Regions from separate parts of the Homo sapiens genome. Here region 2 is linked to region 1. Evidence: promoter capture Hi-C in human tissues and cell types (Jung and others, 2019). All regions are on one chromosome and are shown on one strand. Each heading gives the region's core, a stretch centred on a gene start or on the middle of the fragment in contact. The rest is flanking DNA. Distances are from core to core; before and after follow the strand shown.

The links. The method cuts DNA at HindIII sites, captures the fragments that hold promoters and counts their contacts. A contact is called where the count stands out against the background at its distance.
Region 2: a fragment that was not itself captured here is called in contact with the fragment with the promoter of SLC12A7 in region 1 in 1 of the 25 tissues and cell types used here (spleen).

The regions. Positions count from the first base shown.
Region 1 is chr5:1,110,477-1,116,965 of GRCh38, forward strand. SLC12A7 (solute carrier family 12 member 7) reads right to left here and starts at 1,587. Exons shown (of 24, transcript NM_006598.3): 1 at 1,392-1,587. The coding sequence starts at 1,515. The HindIII fragment of the contact is 45,067 bases long and covers 1-6,209 here.
Region 2 is chr5:961,323-967,811 of GRCh38, forward strand. LOC124900931 (a long non-coding RNA gene) reads right to left here and starts at 2,839. Exons shown (of 2, transcript XR_007058676.1): 1 at 2,777-2,839; 2 at 996-1,404. RefSeq lists enhancers at 2,268-2,427, 4,014-4,515. The HindIII fragment of the contact is 5,091 bases long and covers 1,239-6,329 here.

The DNA of each region.
Region 1 (6,489 bases), core at 337-2,836:
CAAGCACAAAATTCTCTCTGGCTTAAAAGCAAATGACACTTACAGTCTAAAGACAAAAGTGAACCTGATCAGCCTTGAGAAGGGGCCGGCCAGACAAGAAGAGGCTCCTTCTGAGTGCGTTCCGGGGGCGTTGCTACAAAGCTCACACAGAAAGACCACGCCAGGGCCCACACTCCTTGGTGCTTCCTGCCTCCACGGTGGTGACTGGAGAGAAGGGGCTTGGACTCACGGACCCTGCTTAGTTAGCACTTCACCTGGTGTTGAGCCTGGCGCCCCGCCTGACCACTTCCAAGATCTGGGCTGGCCTCTGTGCAGAGGAAGCTGAGACCACTCTTCGCCCGCCACGGGGACCCTGATGACGCACCCCAGGCCACCAGGCCACTGCCTTCACGGTGGGTCCCCACCCGTGTCTCCGGGTTCCTAAACTGCCTGGAGGGGATGTCTGGCCTTTCCTGCCCGGGATGGTGGGTTAGGAAGGATCTGGGGTCTGGCACCGGACTTGTCCCTGGACAGACCTCACCTTCCTTCCACTGCCAGGGAGCAGGGAGGCTGCCACCCACTGCATGAGACCCGGGCACATGCGGGCACTGCCAGCACGCGGGGTGGGGGCTGGACTGAGTCCGGACACCTTCTCAGAGACTCCGGATGGAAGGGCCTAAGAGCCTCCGGTTTCTAGAGGGGGCTGAGATCCGGGGAGTAACTGGGATTTGGAGCCAGGATGGAGGGAACAGGGCTGGGGGATTCTCTCCCCAGCCCCGTCCCCACCCCCTAGAGAAAGTGAAAGTGCTAGAAACCTCCAGATTCCCGGAACGGGGGACGGGAACACGGAGGACGCGGCCTGAGCAAGGCCCCGGTGGCTGCCCCCTCCCCAGCCAGGGCGCAGTCCTTCCTGTTCCGCCTCTGGGGGGTGGGCGGCTCCTCCAGGGTCAGGCGGGGGCAGGACGGGCCGGCCCGGGCTAGTGTTACCGGACGGCCGCGGCGCAGGGGAAGGGAGAGCGCGGGGGACGCAGGACGCCCCGGCTCCCGAACCGCCCGGGTCTCCACCGCCACCCCTGTCCCACTAGGGACCACCCAGGGGCCCGGGCTCCCTCCGGAGGCGCGCTCCAGCCCCTCCCCGTTTCCATGGCTACCAGCAGCGGCGTCCACACCTCTGCCCCCGGTCCCACCCGAGCTGACCGTACCGGGAGCCCTGGCAGGGCCCCTCGCCCCCTAGCGCTGCCACTAACGTGGGGTGGGGGCCCTCGTGGGGGACCGAGAACAGGCGGTGGGGGCGCGGGAAGGGGCGCCTCCTGTACCCCCGGCCCCGCCGCCCGCCTCCGCTCCCGGATGCCGGGCCCAGACCCGCGCTCGGGGCGCTCGGCCTTTGTCCGGCCAGGTGCGGCCGCGCTCACCCGGGCTGGGGCGCTCGGGCTCGGGGCCCTCGGGGGTGCCCGGAGCCTCCGTCCGCTCGGCAGTCTCGTCCCCGCCGCCGTCGGCGTGAGCCTCCACGGGCACCACGGTGAAGTTGGTGGGCATGGCCGCCTGCAGCCGACAGTCCCCGTCCCGGCCCGGCCCGCGCTGCGCCGCTCCCGCCGACGCCACGGGACTTGGAGGCAGGGGCGGGGTCCGACCGAGCCGCCCCGCCCCGCCCGGGCCACGTGACTTCACCTGCTTGCCCCGCGGCCCCACGAAAAGTTGGCCCGCGGCGACTTCCTGCAGGGACCCCAACCCAGGCTGCGTCTGTCTGACCGCCGCGACCCGGGACGCGGGGCTTTCGCTGCCTGCGCTCCCGACCATCGCAGAGCCCGCGAATCCCCGCTCAGTCTCCTGCACCCCCTCCTGCTCCAGCCCCCTGCCCCTCCTGCTGGAACTCCCCGCCCTCCCCGCCCTCCCCGGCCCCCTCCCCGCCTCCCCTCTTGTCCCCTTCCCCGACCCCCCACTCCTGCTCCAGCCCCCTGCCCCTCCTGCACGCCCTTCTGCTGGAACCCCTCACCCCTCCTGCACCCCCCCACCCTTCCTGCACCCCCTCCTGCTGGGCCCCCCTGCCCCTATGAACCCCCTCCTGCTGGAACCCCTGCCCTTTCTGCACCCCCTCCTGCTGGGCCCCTCCTCCTTCTGCGCCCCCTCCCGCACCCCCTCCTGTTTGCCCCCCATTTCCTGCTCCAGCCCCCTACCCCTCCTTCTTCCCCCTCCTGTTCCCCCCTGCCATCCTCCAGCACCCACCTCCCACACAGTCCGCCCACCCACTCCAGGCTGTCAACACCCGCTCAGACCCTGGGCTCCTAGCCTGGCTCCTGGCTAGCCCAACCTGGCTGCAAAGGCAACTCCAGTGGAAGGAGCCTTGGATAGCCTGGGGGTGGGGTACTCCGGAGCTTGGTCCAGCTCCAGTTTAGGGACCTAACCCAGTAGAGGGAGTCCCCCCCCCCACCCATGACAAATACCACCCACGAAGACCCCAGTCTCCTCCACACCTGCCCCAGGAGTGCCCCGCGGCCCCTGCCCTAGAACCCTCCCTTCCCTCCTTGGGAAATGTTCCAGAAGCTCACAGGGTGATGCAGGGAAGGTGGAGTTCCAGAACCCACCAGGCAGACACCAGGATACCACCGGCCAGCACCTGGCACATTTCTCAACAAATGACTCATGAAAAACGGAACAATCAGATGTCCGTCAATGGGGAATTGGGCTAAAATGCTATGGCACACAGGTGCAATGAGTCAGCCTTTATTCCTAATCACCCACAACTGCTGTACGACAACAAAGCAGAAACACAGGTGGTGTGGGCAAACACGGCCACAGCCTCTTGTCACGTGGAAAATGGGTATGGCCTGGCCATGTTTTAGCCGCTTGCCTGTCTAATCCTAAAAGGCAGCTGGAGGGGAGTGATGGCCTCCGGGCTGTGGGATCACCGGGCTCTGTGGGTTCAAGGAACGCAAGCCCAACCTCTCCAGCCATTTCCAGTAAAGCCAGTCATGCCCTGGGGTGGCCTAGGGTTCTACCCCTTTGCCCCATGGACTCTTCTGGGCAGAAGCTGTAGGCCTGGGACCCTCCTGGAACGTCGCCCATCCAGCACCAGCCCTTGCAGAGGTGGGGGTTCCTCTGGCCTGGGTGTCTGGAGCTGTGCCTGCTCCACACTCTCACCCCACCTCCCACCAAAGGGAGCTCAGGGCTGTGGATGGTGCTAGGTCAGCTGCCTCCCTGGGTCAGTGGGTTGGAAGGTAGGAAACCATCACCTCCCCAGAAGATAAAATAGTTCCCAGGCATCCTTATGAGGAGGGCTGGCTTTGCTAAAAAGATCCAGGGGGTGGGAACAGAAGTGCCCAATGGGGTCAATTATAGGGTTCACACTTAGGGTGCTGGGTAAACCCTCTCCTCAGTCACCCCAGCAGGGGCTTCTGTACATTCAACCCTGGTTGCCACCCAGCGCTATTCCCGAGGGTTGGACAGAGCTCAGGGTGGGCACGAGGCCTTCCCAAGTGATGCCAGCAGGAGCAACAGATGTGCAGGGCTCCCGTCGCACATCCAAGCTCTGCTTCACACCCCAGGACCCCAGGGCCGGCTGCCCGCCATGTGCTGGCTGTGGACCTTCAGAGGAGCTGGTTTGGAGGGTCTGTGGCCAGGGCCAGCTCCCGGACTCAGGACTCATCAGCTTCATTTTACAGAGGAGGAAACTGAGGCCCAGGAGTTTAGGGTCCTGTGGCAGCTCCGAGGGTGGTCTTCTCTGTGATTACAAAATCTTGACTAGGACCAGGGGCCATGGCTGAAGCACCTGGGTGGGTGCCCAGCCCTGCCAGGCAGAAGGCAGGTGGCTTCTCTTGTTTAAATCTTAGATCTTACTTGTGGGAGACCTCGGGTGGGGGGTGAGGTCTGCTGCCTTTTGCATTCTAATCAGGTGAGTCACGACAGGGATCAGCACCCTGTAAGCACCTGCGGGTCAAGACAGAGACCCTTGCCGGAGCCCAGAAGCCGCTGCAGGCCCCTCCCATCCCATCAGTAGCCCATCCCTAGGGGTCTGGTGGCCCCTCCCTTCGCTCTGTGGGTTTCCGTGTCCACGTATATCCTCCCACACGGCAGCCTGGGGTTAAATGTGCGTTGTGTGACTTTCAGTGCTCTCTTCCTACCCACCTCCATCCCTCTGTCCTTTTCTGTACCCGGCACCTGTTGTAGGAAGTGGCCCTCGGACACGTGGAGGTACCCGAGGCCTGGGTTGGAGCTGCATCTTTCGGTGCAGGCCTCTGCGTCTCCTGGAAGTGGGCACCTGGAGCCAGGGGACTGCTGGGATCCGGGTCCAGTCCCCTGGCAAGGCCGGGGGCTCGCAGAGGGAGCCACGCACTGTCTGGTGGTAGCTCCTCCGTCCGCAGTCGTTGGTGCTTGATGTCTGAATCGACAGATTCATGGAGCAAAATGGTGATTTTCCAGTGCGTGGTGGCTTCGTCATGAATTCACTGGAGGGAGAGGCTCATCTTGTCCGTCTGGCCATCTGGATAATGGTGCCCACAGGAAAGGCAGGGCAAGGGTGCCTCTCCCTCATTTGTCAGTTTCCACAACGGTGAATTGGTTCCCGACAATCTCCCAAGTATATTTGTACATCGCTGATGAAACACATTGGTGGGTCTCAGTCGATCACCATTAGTGCCCTTTCCAAGCATCGGTGTCCAGCTTTGCCCAGGGGGCCTCTTCAAATGCAATCTCGCATCCTTATGATGTGAGCCTGGTCATCTGCGATGGCCTCTTGGCCGTGTGCAGGGCACAGCCAGGGGAACCCTGGGATTTAGTGCGAAAGTGTAGCCGATGGTGGTTACATTCTGTGTGTAGATTCTCGAAACAGTCCCTGCTGCCTGCCACCCTGGGGTGGAGTTTCTAATGGATTAGGACGGACACCCAATGCCAGCTTCCAAGCCAGGAGGCCGCTCGTGCCCACGGCTTGGAATCAGGGCTGTGGCCTGGGAGGGCTCTCACCAGACGCAGGCTGCCTCCAGGTATCTGTGTGCCTCTGCCCACGGAGCTTCTCCCCAGGTCCGCGGGTCCCCCCAGTCCACTTCTGCTTTCCTGTTAGGGTGGGGGGCTCATCTCCTGGTGCGCCATCTGCATCCTTCTGGGCTGGGAACCTGCTGTCGGGTATCAGGCAGGGCGCACCTCCAGGGCTGAAGGATGCAGGTGGGGCTGGCAGGCAGAGTGTCCGTGGAGAGCTCCGTGTCCAGGGAAGGGGACACCTGGAGGAGGCCGGCCCTGGAGGCCCCACACTCCTTCTCACCAGAAAGCCACCCGCCTTCTGCCTGGCAGGGCCGGGCACCCACCCAGGTTCTTGCCTGTTGGCCCAGCACCCATGGTGAGTGGGGGAGAGAGCGAATAGGGCAGAGCAGAAGAGAGAGGGGAGGAAGGAGAATCGGGGGAAGGGGGAGGGAAAGGAAAGAGGTGGGAAGGGAGGAGAGGGAAGGGAGGCCCCAGTTACCCAAGGCTAAAGTGATTTTTAAAAAACAAACCTTTTTTTTTTTAAGCGTGGTGAGCCTCTCCTGGCAGGGTGGGGTATGTGGACATCAGTGGAGGAAGCAGAGTCTCCGGCCACCTGTGGGACCCACACTCTCCCTGCCCAGGAGTCCCACCAGGGCCGAGAATTCTGCCCATGGCCAGGGTGGCCCTAAAGCCCCACATCCGCCACCACCTGTGGGGGCTCGAAGGGAGCTGTGGTAGGCAGGGATGACAGAAGACCCCAGCCACAGCCCCAGGCCCATGGCTGCATCTCCCCTGAAGAAGCAGCCCTGTCCCAAGGGTTCTGCAAACAATGCCAGGCTCTTCCCAGGCAGGCACCGCAAGCTGCCCCCCGCCCCGATCCCTGGCTTGCCCAGGGCGGGGCCTCTGGGCCTGGTGGATGGTGGGCCTGGCCTGGCGCTGGGGAGCCTGTCTGCACAGTGGCCAGGTACGTGGGGTTCTGAGCCTCCCCCGGGTCCTGTGCCTGCTGGGCAGGGGTACATCCCATGGAGCTGAATCTGGGAATAGAAGGGGCCTCCCCTCCCACAGAGCTCGTCTCAGACCATCTGTGTCTGAGACTGTAAGTGACGCCAACAGAAGGTCAAGCTTGAGCGACAAAGCTCTCAGTCCTGTAATTCACGGACACTGAGTCTTCGCTCAAGTTCCCTCTGGAAGATTCCGTGGATGAGTCCGACACACTCTTCCCCTCACTCAGGAGGCTCCAGGATTTTTAGACCACGTGTGTGGCTTTCCTTCTCTCAAAGTGTAACTCACATAATGTTACTCAGAATCTCACACGGACGCCCGTGAGTTGCAGACACAGGGAAGGTTCGCATCTCCTCTGAAGTCCAAGCTGCCCAGAAGCCCACCCACCCCCCGCCAGCTCTCGTTCCTGCTCCACAGGTGACTTCTTTCCCGTGAAGCTTGGGCAAATGTTTGCTGTCGGCTCAGGGGGAAAGGCCATGCCAGGGTCCAGATGGGCTCAAAACCTCCCAACCTGGCAGACACGCAGCCCTTCAGAAATGGAAGCAGAGCCCAGGACAC
Region 2 (6,489 bases), core at 2,534-5,033, 150 kb before region 1:
GAAGCCTCTGCCACGGCGGGTCTGCGTGAAGGATGTCCTTCCTGGTGGTCCACACTGCCGCAGAAAAATGACCCCCAAACTCAACGGGGTTCTGAAGGGCTTGGCTGGGTGGGTCTGGCTCAGCTGAGCAGCTGTCCCAGGCCATGGCTCTGAAGCCTCCACAGGGCTGGAGGGGCAGGTCCAAGCTCACCCCCAGTGCTGGCAGGTCGCGGCTCCTCGTGGCTGTGGGCCGGACGTCTCCTCACCATGAGGGCCTCTCCACGCAGGGCCCCGCACGCAGTGGCTGGCTTCCTTCAGGACGAGTGACCCAAGGCAGACAGAGTGACCCAGAGGGAAGCCACAGGGTCCTTCAGGCCCTGGACTCAGGAGTGGCATCCACTTGTGCTCTGGTCACATGGACACACCTGGCCCGGCATGGGAGGACGACACACAGCTTTGAGTACCTCCTTGTCTCTGGGCCGTCCCGGGCCCTCAGGCCCCAGAGATTCTGTGATTCTCCCAGCAAAATGCAGCCACTCCTCCCAAGGCCCCCAGAGTCTGCTGCCGTGTGAGGGCTCTATTGGCCCCAGGAGACTTTTCGAGGGTCCTGCACAGCTGCTGGCAGGCTTTGGTCCTTGCGGGCTGTTGTCTGGAGTCCCGTGCACCTCGGGAGATCGCTCTGTTCTCGCGTCGCCTGAGTTCCCACGGCATGGCTGCTGGCTTCACCCAAGCCCGTGACCCAGGAGACAGAGCAACCAGGAGGGAGACCTGGCATGTCCAGCCCAGTTTCGGAAGTGACCCATCTGCACTCTGCCGCATGCTGTCGGCCGCACAGACTCACCTGGGACTACGTGGAAGAAACCGCAAGGGCGTGAGTGCCAGGAAGCCAGGCTCACCAGGCAGAGCCGTTGCATGAGCAGGACACAAACCTCCGTTGTGTCAGGATCTTTCCATCCCAGGGACCACTTCTTGCCGCAGATTAGCCCTTCCCACAGACACAGAGACTGGAACCTTCATGCAGGGTGTGGCCAAAATATATTTCTACAGCATAGTTACACTGGGGAGGAAACAGACAGGGCAGGTGGAGACTGGGGGCCCTGCCAGGGGCCAGGGTCTGCGGGAATGAGGGGGCAGACCACCCCCACCGAGCCCAGATGCCAGGGAAGGAGCCTGGCCAGAAAGATCCAGAAGGACTCAGTGTCTGGCGGCCCTCGCTGCTCCCCATTCTTTGAGGCCGTTGTTCCCAGATGGGATGTCGGATGCGTCTCTGGCCCGGGCCCCTGGTGAAATGTGATGGAGGGGTGTGGATGGAGCGTGGTGGACACAGCAAGAGCCTGGCCAGGCATCCCTGGGGCAGGACAGCATCAGCCGGGGAGCGGGGTCTAGCCCCAGCCGCCTGGCACAGAGTGGCGCCCAATTCTAGAGCTTGAATGAAAGAGGGAATTCAGGAAGACGCTTACACCAGCCAGGCCCCGGGGCACTCAGGACGGTAGCATCACGGGGTGCCAAAGTCTGCAAAGGTGACAGAGGACGTGGGGCCTCGGCAGGGCTGCCTCCACTTCCCCAAGCACACGGAAGACAGGCAGGGTGGACGGGGGTGACCCGGCCTGGGACCTGGGCTGTACCTTAGACCTCAGTTCCCCTCCACATGGAAGCAGCACCAAGACCCACAAGCCCTCGCTGTGGGGACCCCCGGCCTCACCCACCACCGTCCACATGGCCCCCACACCCACGGCGTTCATCTGGGCCACAAGAAGTGTTCCTCCAGGGCACGGCCCACCCAGGCCCACCCTTGGAGCTTCCCTGGTATGGACTGGCTGGGCTGGCAGAATGGGTCAGGGTGCCAGGCAGACTCTCAGGGACTTGAAGCGAGGACAGAAAATACTCCCCAGACAAGGGCAGACACAGGAGGGAACAATGCCTGAGGACACAGGCCTGAGGCAGGCCAAGCGCTGCCACGCGTGGACTGGACGAAGGCCTGCTAGGCATGGCCTGGCTGGAAGTGAAGAACCGAGGCAGCACCTCTGGCTTGGAGGGAGCAGGTGGGAGCCCTTGCACTGGCTTCCTCTCCCCTGTTCTTATTCTTCTGGAATTAGGGAGGCTGCTGGGAGGTAGAGGAAGCACCTGCCCCAGTCCTCAGAGGACAGAATCATGCGAATGCTTAGTTACCGAGACCTCCTTCCCACCTGCACGCCGGGCCAGTGGCTCTGCCCGTGACAGCCCCGGGCCTGGCCTGTGCTCAGCACTCATCACTCTTGGGTCTTCCAGGCCATGGTGGCATTGCACGCCCTGCCCTAGGTGTGGGGTTGTTTCATGTTTCAGAAGCCGAAGGACCTGCCCTCCCTCTCATCTCAACACAGCGCCTGGCAGAGAAGCAGTTCCTCTGTCTACTCCAGGGGCTCACACGCCCCTCTGTAGCCCGAAAGTCGGCCTCGGATGTGATAAGCCAGGAAACTCCCTGGTCACCAGTGCATAAGCCCTCAGGGGCTCCAGACGCAGCAGCTGGTTCAGAATTTGTTATCCTGGACTAAAGCCTCCCCTTGCACCACCGTGGGGGTGGAAGGAGGTGGCTTGTCTGAGAAACACCAACATGGACAGGGACGTTCACTGTCACAGAGACAAGGCCTGGCCCCACCTCCCCACAGGACTCCCTCCCCAGTGCCTGGTCTGACGGCAGAACCAGGCAACACCCAGTTCCGCTCCCCTCACCCTTGCCTTCAGAAGCAACAGATAACGGCAAACCCTTGCGTGCAGCGACCACATGAAGACCGCAGCTGCGCGGGCTGTAGTTTCTTACCCTCTGTCAGCACGCACGGCTCTCCAACAGATGGGCGATTTCAAGTTGCTCTGCATCTTAAATGACCCCTTGATAAAACCCCAAACGGCTTTGGATGGGTCTGTTTCCTGTATCTTAAGCACAGAAAAAACAGCCCAGATGTTTCTGATTCATTCAAGCTTTAGTTCAAGAGCACGCTCTGCCGTGGGAGTTTCTTTGAAACTGAGGAGACACACAGGCCCTTCCTCCACTCCCTCCTGCCTGGCTGAGAAAAGGGACTTGCTTGCAGCCACCTGAGAGCAAACAGCACAGGTGCATGGAAGAGGGTCCCGCAGAGCCCTGGGGAGCCCGGCTGGGGACTCTGGGAAGCGGACGGCATCCACACGTGTCCACGCATTCATCGTTGGTACGAGATCCAACTCCCTACCTCCCGGGGGTGCAGAACGCAGGGTCCAGGGAGACGGCAGCCACCTTGGGGAGGATTCGGCCTTGTGAGATAGCAAGGTCCTTCCCTCAGTGGTCGTGGCCTCCCCAGAGTCCTACACCCCTCTGCTCTGCCCCCAAAGCCTGCACCCCCTTTAGAGGCCCCCTGAGCATGGAGACGGGTCCGTGTACCTGAGATCTGCAGGCACACAAATGTATCTGCAATGCTGCCTCGGTCAGCTGTGTCACATGGTTCTGCGGCTGCTCTGAAAATGGCCATTAGGTGGGAGTTTTTCTTTCCTTTTTCCTCTCCCCTTCTCTGTTATTGATTTAGAGACTTCATGCAGAAATTGAATAGGAGGAAGGGGGTGACAGTCCTCTGAGACCTGAAATCTCAGCCACGCCACGAGTGGCCGAGGGCCCAGGTCTGGTGACCAATGGTGAGAAGGAGTCATCTCTCAGAACGAGGCCCAGACAGTGCCGGGAACCAGGGGGTCCCACCAGGCACAGGCAGAACCAGCACGGTGCCTCCCCAGAGTCCGGTGACCTGAGGAGCTGCCAGGACGGCCAGACCCCAGTGAGTCAGTGACCACCAGGACGGCCAGGCACTCTCAGCAGCAGAATTCAGGCTGCATTCATTTTCTCCAAGGAGTGCAGTGTGGGTTCGGACAGTTTGAGCTCAAGCATTAGGGCTCTGTGGAGCAGGATCACAGCTAGTTATTGGGAAATCACCAAAAATGCATCGATACACAATTCTAGGTTCCAAACAAGAAGAGAAAGGACACTTTCGCTTTTAAAAGAAGGAAGATACAAAGCCTGGCAATGAACAGAAGTTTACAGAACAGAAAAATATGGGGTTAAAAACAGCCATTGGAGTCTTCCCAATTCTCATTCAGAGAGGGTGGCATGAAAGCCAACAGAAATCGATGTTGATAGGAAACAAGTGTCATCAGAGAAGGTAAGGGCATTCGCAGAGGGAATAATATTATTTGTGAACTGTCATGGCATGGCCGTTTTTAAACTTATCTTCACAGCATCTCTCCTCATAAGCAAGAGCATGAAGAGCACGGAGAATGTCTGTTTGGTGGCCGACAGCCATCACGGGGTCTCTACGTGCCGGCCAGTCCTCACCTCGTTTGCACGCGTTTATGAACTTAGCCCTCCCTCCGCACCATGAAGGGGCCCTTATCGTCCCGTTTCACAGGTGTGGAGACAGAGGCTCGAGGGGAGAAACAGCCCTGGCGGGCGAAGGCAGAGCTGAGCTTCCGAGAAGGGCCTCCTGTGTTCAGAAATTCCAAAGGAGAAGTAGAAGTTGTCCTGTGGGCAGGAGGGGAGGGAGAAACTCCCAGATGACAGGTGCGAGCCGCGGCCTCGTGCTGACATCTAGAACCGGATGATGGGAGCGAACCGCGGCCTCGTGCTGACGTGTAGAGTGGGAGGGACCCTGGCATCCAGGGGCTTCTTTCTTGGGGAAACACCAAGTATAGAAAGTCAACCATCGTTGTCTCTCACGTAGGATTAACTGTTGCTTTTCAGCTTTTTTACACTTATTTTTTGTTAAGCTATGTCACTACACTTTTTTTTCTGAAATAACGTTAGACTTATGGAAGAGTTGCCAAGATCGTCCAGGAGTCCCCGCCCCCTTCAGGCAGCTTCCTCCCGTGTCAGCACCTTGCATACCCGACCTTGACCACAAGGATTGAGGCTAAGAATTAACACGGGGCAATTAACTACACAGTAGCTTGATTCAGATTCCTCCAGTTTCTGGTAACATCCACCTCCTGCTTTAGAAACAACACTGAGTTCCATGAGCACGCAGGTGTCATCTCGCTGTAGGCTCCAGCCCACGGCAGGCCCCGTGTTTCCTTGCCTCCCATGGCCTTGCCACTTGGAAGAGCACTGGCTGGGTGTTTTGAAGAACAGCCCTCAGTTTGAGTTTGCTATTTTATCATGTCTGGATCGAAGTTATGTGTCTGTGCCAAGAAACTGGCAGAAGCCCCATACCCTGCTCAGCGTCCGCAGTAGTGACTCACGGGCCCTATGCTTTGCCTCATTATGGGTTGTTTTGGCCCTGGTCACCTGGTTCTGGTGGGATCTGCTGGCTTCCCCCACTGTAACGTTACTATTCTTCATTTGTAATTTATTTATTTGTATTTACTTATTTTGAGATGGGGTCTCTCTCTGTCCCTCAGGCTGGAGTGCGGTCGTGCAATTTTAGCTCACGGCAACCTCTACCTCCCGGGCTCAAGCAATCCACTCGCTCAGCCTCCCAAGTAGCTGGGACTACAGGTGTGTGCCACTGCGCCCAGGTAATTTTTGTATTTTTTTAGAGACAGGATTTCACCGTGTTGCCCAAGCTTCTCTCAAACTCCTGAGCTCAGATGATCTACCTGCCTTGGCCTCTCAGGGAAGATACTTTGAGACTACAAGAGTATCCTATTTCTCCTCAAAGTCTTTTCTGCTAATTTTAGCATGGGTTGGTGGGTTTTGTCTGCAACAATTACTACTGTGGTGTTCTGAGATGATTTGTTTCCTCACTACTCTGCTGGAATTCCTCTGAAGGAAGGACCGCCCTCCCCTCACTGATTTATTCAATCACTCGTGTGCCTTCATGTGGACTTGTGCATATTTATGCTTTGGATGATCATCCCACACTGTCATTATTTACTTAGTTGCTAAAATTTACCCAGCTCTGGCCACTGGGCTTTTCCAGGCGGGCCCTTGGGACCCTCCCATCCTTCGGGAGCACTTTCTCGCTTTCCAGCATAACCCCAGGCTGCCCCGGTTTTTCCCCCAGCCCTGGAATCCATCATTTCTCCAAGGAACCCTGCTCTTTTTACTGGAGAATGAGCTTTAGAGACCAAGGTCAGGGCACTAACTGTGCTCATTGCTGCTGGGGTGTCGCTGAGCAAAGAGAAATGTGAATAGCAAATTAGCCTATAATTATTAATAATTATTTATTGATGGGTAAATAAAGGAATGAATGAAGGAGGAATTATTCAAAATACTCAAAAGATGGATGTTGAGTACGACACTTCCTCCTTGTAAGAAATAATTTAAATGTAAATGAACACGTATCTAACTTACAGCAGGGGCTATGCCTCTTGGTGTTTTCCTGTGTGTACATCGCTGTGACACATGAAAAACGGAGAGACACCCAGAGGCAATGAGAAATGCTGAACGACGCAAAGCAAAACAAAAGCAAACATTTAAAACAAACTTCTAAGTTTACAAGAAAGAAAGAACAGACTTCGAAAAAATACCCACCTGTCGATAAAATGAGATAAATTGACCATAGATGAACCTGCTCA